Regions from separate parts of the Homo sapiens genome. Here all the other regions are linked to region 1. The links are contacts of gene promoters, found by promoter capture Hi-C in blood cells and fetal thymus (Javierre and others, 2016). All regions are on one chromosome and are shown on one strand. Each heading gives the region's core, a stretch centred on a gene start or on the middle of the fragment in contact. The rest is flanking DNA. Distances are from core to core; before and after follow the strand shown. Region 1 holds the start of TUBA1A (tubulin alpha 1a). Region 2 has its middle 34 kb from the start of TUBA1C. Region 3 overlaps TUBA1B-AS1 (TUBA1B antisense RNA 1).

Region 1 (4,119 bases), core at 880-3,379:
AGGAACAGAATGGCTCTGAGATAGAATTTCAAAGAATCAACCACGTGAACCCTCCTCTCTTTTATTTAATCCTTTGGAAATTGCATAAAGAACTGAGACTATTGGATAAGTGACATATTTCTTAATTAATCTTTTTATATTGTAAAGAAAATAATGTTCAAACTCTGCTTCTCATTCCAAAAAGACTTGTACATGTTACTATAGTCCAATAGTGTCTGATATATTTTATTATTAAAATTGTGAAAGTATTTTGAATGAGCTACTTATTAATCCTTATGCTTCCTTATGCCATTTAATTCTTATTTTTGTTAAATATATTTCTGGGTTCTGAAAGAAGCATTCAAATACCTAATCCTCCTGTCTCTTCTGAAATATACTTTTTTTTTTTTTTTGCTAAAGAAGTGGAGATAAGATGATGTTGAGGATTATTTTTTCCTAGGAAATATACAATAAGTAGATAAAATGATTTTTGCATTTTGGATATTATTTTTTTTCCAGAGAATATTACTGAAGCAAAATTGATCAAGTAAAGCAGAACTGTGGATGGCAGGCTAGAAAAATCTGTGGTCGCCATTGTCACACCACAACCTGCAGCAGCTGTATTCTCAAGTCCCTCCCTCCCACGCCCTTCTTAGCCTGCCAGCCTAGCAGGAATGAATGGGTTCCGCAGAGCACTGTGTGAGTAGTGCTGCAGACCCTGAAAATTTGTCTCTGAAAACCAAAAGGAAAAATTATTTGTAAAAAATAAATTTTCAACTTTAGTGGCCAAACTTATTTACCTCTGAAATTTCATCACCAACATCCAGTGGTACGAAGTCCAGTGACTTACTCCGGATCGTTGCTGAGAATGGAGGCTTCCTAAATATCAAGATAATTTTACTCCAATTTATTTCCTAGGGGTGAAAGCAAAGCCTTTTTGTCCCAAGGGACAACTGAGCAACCACCAGAGTCTCTAGCTGAACAGCAAGGGTGTGAGGCCGGCTAAAATTCCCACAGTTAGAAGCCCACTCGCAGGAGGATATTTACCAAATTGACATAAGAACTACATAAAAAGGAAATGCGTTTATTGAGCTGATGTTTCACAGTTGTCTGTGGATGGAGGCGACATTGCAAAATTCTTTTTACATTATATTATTCTCTTCTTCTTTTTAATTTGGTGTATTGGTTATTACTATTATTTTGCTTGTTACTTTCCAGACAAAAGTCCAATTCAGATATGTAACTGCACACATGTAGTACTAACTTCTGAGCTCAATTATTTCTCCTTGTATTTTCCCAATTTTCTATCAGGAAAGATGATTCATTCCAAAGGACAATGTACCATACAAAATGTGTTACATAGACTTCTCATAAAAGAATACCTCTAGTAAACCATTATAACTACTCTACGTTCACTTGCTCTTGATTATTGCCATGTTAGAACTATTTGTTCGCTTCTTTATTTAATATGGTTATTCTTTCCATCTTCCAGTTTTGTTTAGCTATTCGGGTGTGCGTGTGCCTGCAGAAGAAGCTCTGAAAATAAGTTAGTTGAACCTGAGAAACCATTTGGAATGACCGTATGGCTAAATCTTTTTTTAAATTAAAAAAATCACATATACCCAGGCCATTTCGAGCATCATGCCGATTTTCCCTCCCACTTTACGTTTAAAGCAATTAGAGATGTTGAACCCTAACAAAATGTAGTCGAGTTTAATATACTACGAGGGAGGGGCTGGCAGTCATTTTCCTTTAAATATTTAATCTAAACATAAATTGTTATTAAGGGTAGGGGGAAAAAACCTCACATAGATAATTTTAACTGCAGTTTGAGGTTTAAGCAACAGAAAGTCTTCTAACCCCAGTCCCCTTTCTTCTCCTTCCGCCCCTCCCCAACCCCGCCCCATAATGGATGCTCGGCCGACTGCTTCTGCACGGTCTCTTTGTCTAAAGGATGCAAACAGTCTACGGATGCTAGAGAAAAAGGGGTGGGGGAGAGATTACCTCATCCCACGTCGCTTGCACCAATCACCAGTCTCCTGTCATGGCTTCTCTGGGCAGATTGGGGGTCTGGACCAACAGGAAAAGGCCCCGGCCCATCCCCATGGTGACCGAGTTGTATATAGGGAGCCGCATCCGCCTATGTGCCGCAGGTTCTCTTACATCGACCGCCTAAGAGTCGCGCTGTAAGAAGCAACAACCTCTCCTCTTCGTCTCCGCCATCAGCTCGGCAGTCGCGAAGCAGCAACCATGGTGAGAATCGGCTTCGGCTCTTTGTGGCCGTTGGGTGGAGTCAGCGCCCCCAGGCTCTACTTGGAAAACCTTTAAGCTCTTTTCTTTCGTAAGCTCTCTGGGCGAGGGTGGTGGTATGTTTTGTGAGGTTTAGCTTAGCCCCAAATCCTCAAGCCCCGCCGCCGCCGCAGTGCGGGTGCAGGAACCGGGCCAGTACTGCGCCCAGGGCGCAGCAGAGCGCTGGGGAGGAACAAAGGCGGCGCCTAGGCGCCTGTGTTATCCGAGAGACTTTCGGGGGCCGCGGGCAGCCCGTCTGCCGCGACCGAGGGGTCTGGGGCGTCCCGGCTGGGCCCCGTGTCTGTGCGCACGGTTTCGCTGATGCTGAGGGGCCACTTTCTGTCTCGCGTTGTTCTCTGGGGACCGGGAGAGGAGGAGGCACCCAAAAAGAGCGGGGGCGTTGGGCGAGCTGGGGGACGTGGGAGGGGGAACGGGAACAAAGCGCAGCCTAGGGTTAGCGTGGGAAGACCCTCCGCGGTCTTTGGCGTTTTGGAAAGATACCCACACATTCCCGGGAAAACATGGTGAGTTTCTGCCGGAGCCCCCGGCAGCGGGTGTCAGGGCGGCGCAGGGGCGGGGTTGTTTGTTTCTGGCTTCTATGGCGTTGGAGCCACTGGGCGGGGTTCGCCCTCACTGAACCTCTTCTGTCAGGAGCTGACTGAAAAAAAAACAAAAAAACCTTTCATCATTGCGGAACTGTAGGCTCCAAAAGGGTTTTCTTCACTATTATAAGTTAGATGACTTTTTTTTTTCTTGAGCAAAATCATAATTCACTTCACAAGCTCTTTAATGTCTGGTCTGGGGACGCCCTGCCCTGACCGACTGAAGTGTGTGTGTGTGTGTGTGTGTGTGTGTGTGTGTGTCTGTGGGACGCCCTGCCCTGACCGACTGAAGTGTGTGTGTGTGTGTGTGTGTGTCTGTCTGTCTGTCTGGACTGCACGTTCAGCGAGGGAGAAAGCCCACTTTGTGAGCCCCAGGGTACCCTGATGGTCAGGACCCAGGGAAACGCCCTTCCCCGCCGCCCCCCCGCCCCGCCCCCACCACATCAGCGAATAGACAATGAAAGTGGTAGCCCTAAAGACCACAGAGAAGAAAACCTCTATTGGATGCAAAGAATATGAATATTATGTGATGGGTAGAGAATCTCAGGATGAAAATACTATTTTGTTGTTTTAAATAAATATTTCATTATCCTTCCACTGGGCTTTTATTCTTTGGTACCTTTTCATGTGATGCTTGTTTCTAACTTAGGAACTTTTGTGTGTGTGTGTGTTAAGATACGGATAATTTTTCAGCTTTTACAGTGGAGAAGATCTGGAAAAACCTTTTTTTTTAAAAAAAAAAGTAATGAAATTGCTACAGACAAAGAAGAATTATACTCCGCATCCCGTTGTCTTTTGTTCCAGTGCATCTTAATTAATTCATTTCAATTCAGGCACATGGTCCCGGGCGGGGTCAGAGGAGGAAAACTGGCAAAACAGCACAATGAGATCATGTAGGCAGCTGCTGGAAATAGAGCTTGCTCTGTTAAATAATGTAGCAGACAGTACAGGCTAGCACCAGGCACAGCAAATACAGCAATGCAGCAATGCAGAAGGCAGACCTTGTCTAAACTCCTAGTATTGATGGATTCTGCAGACAGACTGCAGAAGGGTGTGGCTTCTTGCCTCAGCTGCAGTACAGATGTCCGGATTATAATATCAAGTCCTATTCAGAGGAAACTTTCATCTTTATTTAAAAGGGAAGAAAGCAGTAAAATTAATCCCAATTAAGTCATAATTGGATTTACTTCATTTTACAAAATTTGTGCTTTGAATACTGAATACTTTTTAAATATGAAAAATCTTCTAT
Region 2 (4,119 bases), core at 469-2,968, 42 kb before region 1:
ACTTTGAAAAAATAAAATAAAAAGAACACCTCCAGAAAAAAGGTGGTGGAGACAGAGTGTTTGGGATTGTACTTAACCCCAAAACGACAAGTCATACATCTTACACTTAGGAATCTCTTCTTCACAGAAGTATAAGTTACTGAGCAGATATCTTTGCCTGCTGAGAAGCCCCTTCAGCAGTAAAAGGGAGAGCTCTCTGAGAAACCTCAACTTTCTACATTATAAGTGATATTTTTTTCTCATAAGAAGGATTTAACATAGCGCCTTTTTAAAAATTCAGAATTGCCTATCCCTGATTTAAGTGGGGGATCAAGACAAAGGGTGCCTGACTTCTGTATCAGGAATAGGCGTGCCACTCCCCAAGCACTTGGAGCATCTGCTGCCTGGGCTGATTCTTAAACCGAAATCCACACGTGGCTTGACAGCTGAAGTGCCCTTTTATGTCCAGTTGGAATTTCATGTTGGGCAGGCTGCAATGAGTTCATATCCAAACAGAAAATGGGTTCTGTGGGTCAGAGAAAGCTTACTGTGCTGAGAAGGACAAGGTGGACATTTTGTAAATACTATAGGTTTATTTCCGGGGAATTTATCCGCAAAAATGAGGTTGCTTCATTCCCTTCACACAGCATCCTCAGGCCCTTTCAGACAGTTTCTGCTCTTTGGATTTCATCTGCTTGCTAAATATCCACTCCTGTTGTGTCCAGAACAAGGGACTATCTGCAGGTTACTGTGAAAGCAAGCGTTGGGTGGCCCTGAGGGCAGCTCCTCCCAATCAGCTCTTGTCCTCCTTCTGTCAGGCCCTCTGGAGGAAATGAGAGCCACCCCCAGCCAGGAAATCAGCCCAGCATTAGCGTTTAGGGATAGATGATCTAATGGCTCAGGTTCTATAGGTGACGTTCAGGCAAGCTTCTACAATAATTCTGAAGCTAGACACAGAACATATGAGCAGGTGTCCAAGAATTATGGATGCCTCTGAAAGTAACAGAAGGCCAGGCGCAGTGGTGCATGCCTGTAATCCTAGCCCTTCAGGAGGCTGAGATGGGAGGATCAATTGAGGCCAGGAGTTCGAGACCAGCCTAGTCAACATAGCGAGACTCCATCTATCTATCTATCTATCTGTCTGTCTGTCTGTCTGTCTATCTATCTATCTATCATCTATTTTTTTTAAGTAGCAGAAGTTTAAAGAAAAATAGCCATGGCACATACGTTCACAATACTACGCCGTGTTCTCTCCAGTGTTAAGGAGATTAAATTTAAAAGTTGTAAGCACTTTGAGGGCAAGAGCCCTGTTTCGCACTTCCTTTATATTTCGCACAGTGCCCAGCAAGGTATTACACATGCAGTGGTCACTCGGAATACTTAAAAAAGAAATTAGTGCTGGCTCACACCTGTAATCCCAGCACTTTGGGAGGCTGAGGTGGGAGGATTGCTTGAGCCCAGGAGTATGAGACCAGTCTGGGCAACACAAGATCCTATATCTACAAAAATTTTTTAAAAATTAGAGCTGGGAGTGGTGGTGCATGCCCGTAGTTAGTCCCAACTCCTTGGGAGGGTGAGACAGGAGGATCACTTGAGCCCAGGAGTTTAAGGCTGTAGTGAGCTATAATTGCACCATTGCACTACAGCCTGGGCAATAGAATGAGACCCTGACTATAAAAAACAACAATTAAAAAATAATGATGGACTAATGGAACAACAAACAGCTGTGCTCTGAGATTAAGCCTGTTTTTATTGTCACTTCTGAGGAAGCTAGACAGTGATACTTTATAGCCAGAAAACAGAAGTGGAGATGGTGCAACCTTTCTAAATAACAATGACAGCAGCTGACCTTCCTGTATACCAGAAACGATACTAAGTTCTTTTCATACATTATCTCATTTATATCTGACCACACCCCACAGACTTAAGTATTACTATTAGGATTACGCTTATTTTCCAGATGACAAAACATTACCCAAGTCACACCGCTAGTAAGTGTCCACATCAGGACTTGAGTCCAGCTCTCAGTCAGTTTCCAATGCTTTCAGGCAAAATCCTGCACCAGAACATCTCATGATGACCTCCATAGCTCCATTTATTAACCACCCTGCTTTGAGCCTTGCAACCTAATATCTGAAGTGAGAGGGATAGTCCTTCAGAGCAAACGAGCTCAAATAAAATTTAAAAAGCAATACATGATTTGAGAGGGAGAGGGAAAAGGGTCAGCACAGGCACAATTCATAACGGAACATGTCGCAGTATGCCTGGGCTTGATGTCTTCTCCTGTGCATTTTCTAGTTTAATCCCCATGGCACCCTGTGGAGGATGTTATTGTTATCTCATATATAAGGAATAAATGTCTGGAGAACAGCTGGGCTCAAGAAAAAGGTAAATGCTCAAATATTCAGAGGCAGAGAGGGAACGAATCTACTGATAACACTGTACCTGCCCCAGGCCTCTCACTTGGGCTCACAGTACTGGCGTGGGCGTGTCTCACCTTTCCTTCTTCTCCTATGTTTTTAGTAACACTCCAGCCAGCCAGAAAGCTTGCACCTGTCTCTCCCTGCCCCATAAATACAAATATGGTTAAATGTTGACTTGTATGCCATTAAACCATTTCAAAAGCACAGATGAGGTCAAGAGAAAACAGTACAAGTCATTATGCATGGAATGCTATGTAAGAGTTAAATAGAATGAATTAGATTTAAGCATACTGCCAGGTAAAGATCTCCACAAGGCATAGACTGTTCTAAAAAAGAAAAAAAAAAAAAAGGCCAGGATGTTGACTTATGCCTGTAATCCCGGCACTTTGGGAGGCCAAGGCAAGCAGATCACGAAGTCAGGAGTTTGAGACCTGCCTGGCCAACATGGTGAAACCTTGTCTCTATTAAAAATACAAAAATTAGCCAGGTATGGTGGTACACGCCTATAGTCCCAGCTACTAGGGAGGCTGAGGCAGGAGAATCGCTTGAACCCAGGAGGCAGAGGTTGTAGTAAGCCTATACTGTGCCATTGCAGCCTGGGCGACAGAGCAAGACTCCATCTCAAAAAATAAAATAATGAAATAAATTTAAAAAGAAAAAAAAAGCAAGTTAAGAATAAAAAGCACAACATGGCACCATTTATCTCTTAAAAAGTCACACAAAACAATGTGATGTGCACACACACACACACACACACACCTCTATGCAAACAGGTAAGAAATAGTTGGTTACACCCCCAAATTGTTAACAGGGGTTTCTTTGGGGAGAGGACTGGGTTTGGGGTGAAGTGAGCAGTACCGGCAGACTTTTCCTTTGTCTTTTTACAAGATAATTTATTCGTATAAGGGGTATGTAAAGAAAGAAAGGACAGAAAAGAAACAAGTGATGCTGTTAAAAAATAGACTGGGTGTGGTGGCTCACGCCTGTAATGCCAGCACTTTGGGAGGCCAAGGCGGGCGGATCACCTGAGGTCAGGAGTTCAAGATCAGCCTGGCCAAGATGGTGAAACCCTGTCTCTACTAAAAATACAAAAATTAGCTGGGCATGGTGGTGCACAGCTGTAATCCTAGTTATTCGGGAGGCTGAGGCAAAGAATTGCTTGAACCCAGGAGGCAGAGGTTGCAGTGAGCCGAGATTATGCCACTGCACTCCAGCCTGGGCGACAGGGTGAGACTCTGTCACACGCACGCAAAAAAGATAAAGGTTCGCAACATGCAGTAAAGTGGGGAAAGTGATACAAATACACCAAGCTAAAATCCACCGCCTCCTTCATGTCCAGGGAAGACCAATAGATTAGAGGAGTGTCCTCATGTTGACATTATTAATACTTTAATGATTTTCTAAATTTAATGTCTCCTGTGTCTACCAGAAATATATTCCTGAGAAGTTCAATAGACTTGGAAGCAGACCACCTGGGTTCAAGGCCCGACTGCCTTTCTCTGTAACCTTGGGCTGGTTTCTCAAAGCCTTAGTTTCCTTATCTGCAGAGTGGAGAGGATAGTAACACACTTCACAGGGTGCCCTGAGGATTAAATGAGATAACGCATAGGAAAAGCCATCCAAACCTGGGGAACAGAGACTTGTAAATTGCAGATTGTGTTAGCGCCTACTCTCTTCCCATTCTCTCCCTCCCACTTCACAGAATTGTTTTTCCTCA
Region 3 (4,119 bases), core at 1,053-3,552, 49 kb after region 1:
GACCTCATCTCTACAAAAAATTTAAAAATTAGCAGGGTGTGGTGGCATACACTTGTGGTCCTAGCTACTCAGGAGGCTGAGGTGAGAGGATCGCTGAAGCCCAGGAGACCGAGACTGCAGTGAGCTATGTTCATGCCACTGCACTCCGGCCTGGGTGACAGAGCAAGACCCTGTCTCAAAAAAAAAAGAAAGAAAAAGAAAAGATCAATTAATAAAATCCATCAGATCAGCAGTCTAAAGAAGAAAAAGGCCAGGTGCAGTGGCTCATGCCTGCAATCCCAGGACTTTGGGAGGCCGAGACAAGCAGATGGCTTAAGGTCAGGAGTTCAAGACCAGCCTGGCCAACATGGTGAAACCCTGCATCTGCTAAAAATAAAAAAAATTTGCCAGGTGTGGTGGCGTGCGTCTATAATCCCAGCTAATCCAGTGGCTGAGGCACGAGAATTGTTTGTACCAGGGAGGTGGAGGTTGCAGTGAGCCAAGATGGTGCCACTGCACTCCATTCTGGGCAACAGAGCAAAACTGTTTAAAAAAGAAAAAAGAAAGAAAAATCACATAATCATATCAACATATGCAGAAGAAGCATATGACAAAATCCAACACTCATTCATGATAAACTCTCTTGATAAACTTAGAGGGGAACTTTCTCGTCTTGATCAAGAATGTCTACAAAATCCCTACAGCTAACACTATACTTAAAAGTGAGAAATTAGAAGCTTTCTCACTAAGATTAGGAACAGGCAAGCATGTCCCTTCTCACGACTCCAGCAAGACTTATTTTATTCACTGTTATATCAACCCAGCACTTATAAGGAGTACCTGCCATGGTAAGCTCTCAATACTTGTCCAATAAGTAAATAAATAAAAATAGACACCATACTGTTTTCTCTATATTTAATACAATGGACACTTTCTAGTCTTTACCCTATTTAACCTGCAGGATTTGACACTGCAGCATTTGACACTGTACTCGCTTGAAACTCTTTACTTGGATCGTAAAACCCCCAGTTCTTCCTCTTTGATCATTCTTTCTCAGACTCCTTTTGTTTATTTGTTTATTTATTTTTGAAACGGAGTCTCGCTTAGCCGCCCAGGCTGGAGTGCAGTGGTGCGATCTCAGGTCACTGCAACCACTGTCTCCCAGGTTCAAGTGATTCTTCAGTCTCAGCCTCTTGAGTAGCTGGGATTACAGGCACCTGCCATCATGCCCAGCTTTAGTAGAGATGGGGTTTCAGCATGTTGGCCAGGCTGGTCTTGAACTCCTGACCTCAGGTGATCCACCTGCCTTGGCCTCCCAAAGTGCTAGGATTATTGCGACCGGCTCAGACTCCATTTTTTTTTTTTTTTTTTTTTTTTGAGACAGTCTCGCTCTGTTACCCAGGCTGGAGTGCAGTGGCACAATCTCGGTTCACTGCAACCTCCGCCTCCTGGGTTCAAGCAATTCTCCTGACTCAGCCTCCTGAGTAGCAGGGACTACAAGTGCACGCCACCATGCCTGGCTAATTTTTGTATTTTTTTAGTAGAGACGGGGTTTCACATGTTGGTCAGGATGGTCTTGATCTCCTGATCTTGCGATCCACCTGTCTCGGCCTTCCAAAGTGCTGGGATTACAGGCATGAGCCACCATGCCCAGCCACTTTTTTTTTTTTTTTTTTGAGATGGAGTCTCACTGTTGTTGCCCAGGCTGGAGTGCAATGGCGCAACCTCAGCCTCCTGGGTTCAAGTGCTTCTCCTGTCTCAGCCTCCCAAGTAGCTGGGATTACAAGCATGCGCCACCATGCCCGGCTAATTTTGTATTTTTAGTAGAGATGGGGTTTCTCCATGTTGCTCAGGCTGGTCTCGATCTCCTGACCTCAGGTGATCCGCCTGCCTTGGGCTCCCAAAGTGCTGCAATTACAGGCGTGAGCCACTGTGCCCAGCCCCAGACTCCTTTTATAAGCTCATTTTCTCCACTTTAAATGTGATCATTCTTTCAATTCCTTACTAAGGCCAGGTTCTCTATCTACTTCAGGGTTCTCTATTAATACCACCACGTTCAGCCGGGAACGGTGGCTCACGCCTGTAATCCCAGCACTTTGGGAGGCCAAGGCGGGTGGATCATGAGGTCAGGAGTTCCAGACCAGCCTGGCCAACATGGTGAAACCTTGTCTACATTAAAAATTCAAAAATTAGCTGGGCACGATGGCAAGCACCTGTAATCCCAGCTACTTCGGAGGCTGAGGCAGGAGAATTGCTTGAACCCAGGTAGCAGAGGTTGCAGTGAGCCGAGATTTCACCACTGCACTCCAGCCTGGGTGACAGAGTGAGACTCCGTATCAAAAAGAAAAAAAAAAAAAAAGAAAGAAAAGCACTACTTTCCTAGCTCTACACATTCCCCCTGAGAGGTCTTACCATTCCCGTAGTTTAATTACCATTTTAATACTGAAGGTTCAAAATCTGTCTCTCTCTCCCCTCTCCATATCTGCAAGTATGTCTGCCTAATGGACATCTCTAAGCATATGTACTACCGACACTTAAACCTCAAAATGTGTTAAAAACTGACCTTTTCTTACTTCCCGCCCACTTCTTTCTTCAATATTTTGATCTCAGTGAAAAGCACCACGATTCACGTGGTTATTTAAATGAGAAACCTTTGCTGGTCGCAGTGGTTCACATCTGTAATCCCAGCACTTTGGGAGGCCGAGGTGGGCGGATAGCTTGAAGTCAAGATTTCGAGACCTGCCTGGCCAACATGGTGAAACCCGGTCTCTACTAAAAATACAAAAATTAACCAGGCGTGGTAGCACATATCTGTAATCCCAGCTACCTGGGAGGCTGAGGCAGGAGAATCACTTGAACCTGGGAGGCAGAGGTTGCAGTGAGCCAAGATCGTGCCACTGCACTCTAGCCTGGGAAACAGAGTGAGACTCTGTCTCAAAAATAAATAAATAGATAGATAGATAGATAAATAAAATAAATGAGAAACCTACAAAATAACCTCCATTCCTTACTTTACCTCACAACCCATATCCAATCAATCACAAGGTTCAATATTAAACAAAAATTACATATTAAGCACCTACTATGTGCCAGGTATTGTTCTTGTCTCTAGGGATAAAGCCTGCTTGCATTGGCTTACATTATAAGGACATTTACTGTTTCCTTTATTCATTAATATTTATTTAGTTTCTTTAATTTATTATTTAATTAATAAATGTGGAGATAGGTTGGTTTTAAGGTTAGGTCGATAGCTTCACAATATCAGACCACTGCACTGAACTGGCATCTTTATGATTCTCTTTGCATTAGACCCTCAAGGACTGAAGTTGGCTCTAGGCATCATATCTTCAAAGAACATTTCCAAAGGCAGAAAGCAAAGGGAGAGGGGTGAAACAAAAGGGACTTCCTCAACGGGGTAATCTCTTTTTATCAGAGAAGAAAATCATTCCCAGAAAGTCCTCAGCTGACTTGCCTCTTTATGTCCCATTGGTCAGAATCAGGTCCAATCATGAAGGAAACTGAAAAAGCAAGTATCTGGCAAAGGGAAACAAGGTTGCATTTATTTGTCCCCGGGGACTGAGCACACAAATACCCTTTAAACAGTGGCAGATAAAGGAGGCTGTCTTAGCAAGGAGGAATGGAAGAAGGTAGTTTTTGGAAGGGCAACCAAGACTGACTTCCACAAAAAGAGACATGGAGTTTACATAAAAGAAGAAACTTTAAACAAGTAAATAAATGTACAAACAAGGTAATTTCAGATTCTGTAAGAGCTGTGAAATAAGAGTGGTGTGATAAAAAGTAGTGGGCATATTTTGAAAGTAAATTGACAACATGAACTAATGGGACTGAATGTATGAGAAAAAGGTGATTCCAAGTTAACACTGATTCCCATTCATAAATGAAGCTTGAGAAAGATAATTAAGGGTCTAAGGTCATACCACTATTAACTGACAAAGCTAGAATTGAATCTAGTCCTATCTGACACCACCGAAGTCAATTTTCTATTTTTTTCCCTTTTTTTTTTGGTTTTTTTTTTTTTTTTTTTTTGAGATAGAGTCTCACTCTGTCACCCAGGCTGGAGTGCAGTAGCATGATCTCTGCTCACTGCAACCTCCACCTCCTGGGTTCAAGCGATTCTCG

Evidence for each region. Contacts are between HindIII fragments. The CHiCAGO score rates a contact against its expected background, and 5 or more counts as called.
Region 2: a contact is called between a fragment that was not itself captured here and the fragment with the promoter of TUBA1A in region 1, in 2 of 17 cell types (M2 macrophages and monocytes). The highest score is 5.6, in M2 macrophages.
Region 3: a contact is called between a fragment that was not itself captured here and the fragment with the promoter of TUBA1A in region 1, in 1 of 17 cell types (erythroblasts). The highest score is 5.2, in erythroblasts.

What each region holds. Positions count from the first base shown.
Region 1 is chr12:49,187,090-49,191,208 of GRCh38, reverse strand. It overlaps TUBA1A (tubulin alpha 1a), which reads left to right and starts at 2,129. Exons shown (of 4, transcript NM_006009.4): 1 at 2,129-2,232. The coding sequence starts at 2,230. RefSeq lists enhancers at 2,241-2,360, 1,859-2,450. The HindIII fragment of the contact is 8,438 bases long and covers 1-4,119 here.
Region 2 is chr12:49,228,717-49,232,835 of GRCh38, reverse strand. It overlaps a transcript of TUBA1C not described here. Among named protein-coding and RNA genes, the nearest start is that of TUBA1C, 34 kb to the left of the region's middle. The HindIII fragment of the contact is 1,619 bases long and covers 909-2,527 here.
Region 3 is chr12:49,138,144-49,142,262 of GRCh38, reverse strand. All of the region lies in intron 1 of TUBA1B-AS1 (TUBA1B antisense RNA 1), which reads right to left. Among named protein-coding and RNA genes, the nearest start is that of TUBA1B-AS1, 8.6 kb to the right of the region's middle. The HindIII fragment of the contact is 3,167 bases long and covers 719-3,885 here.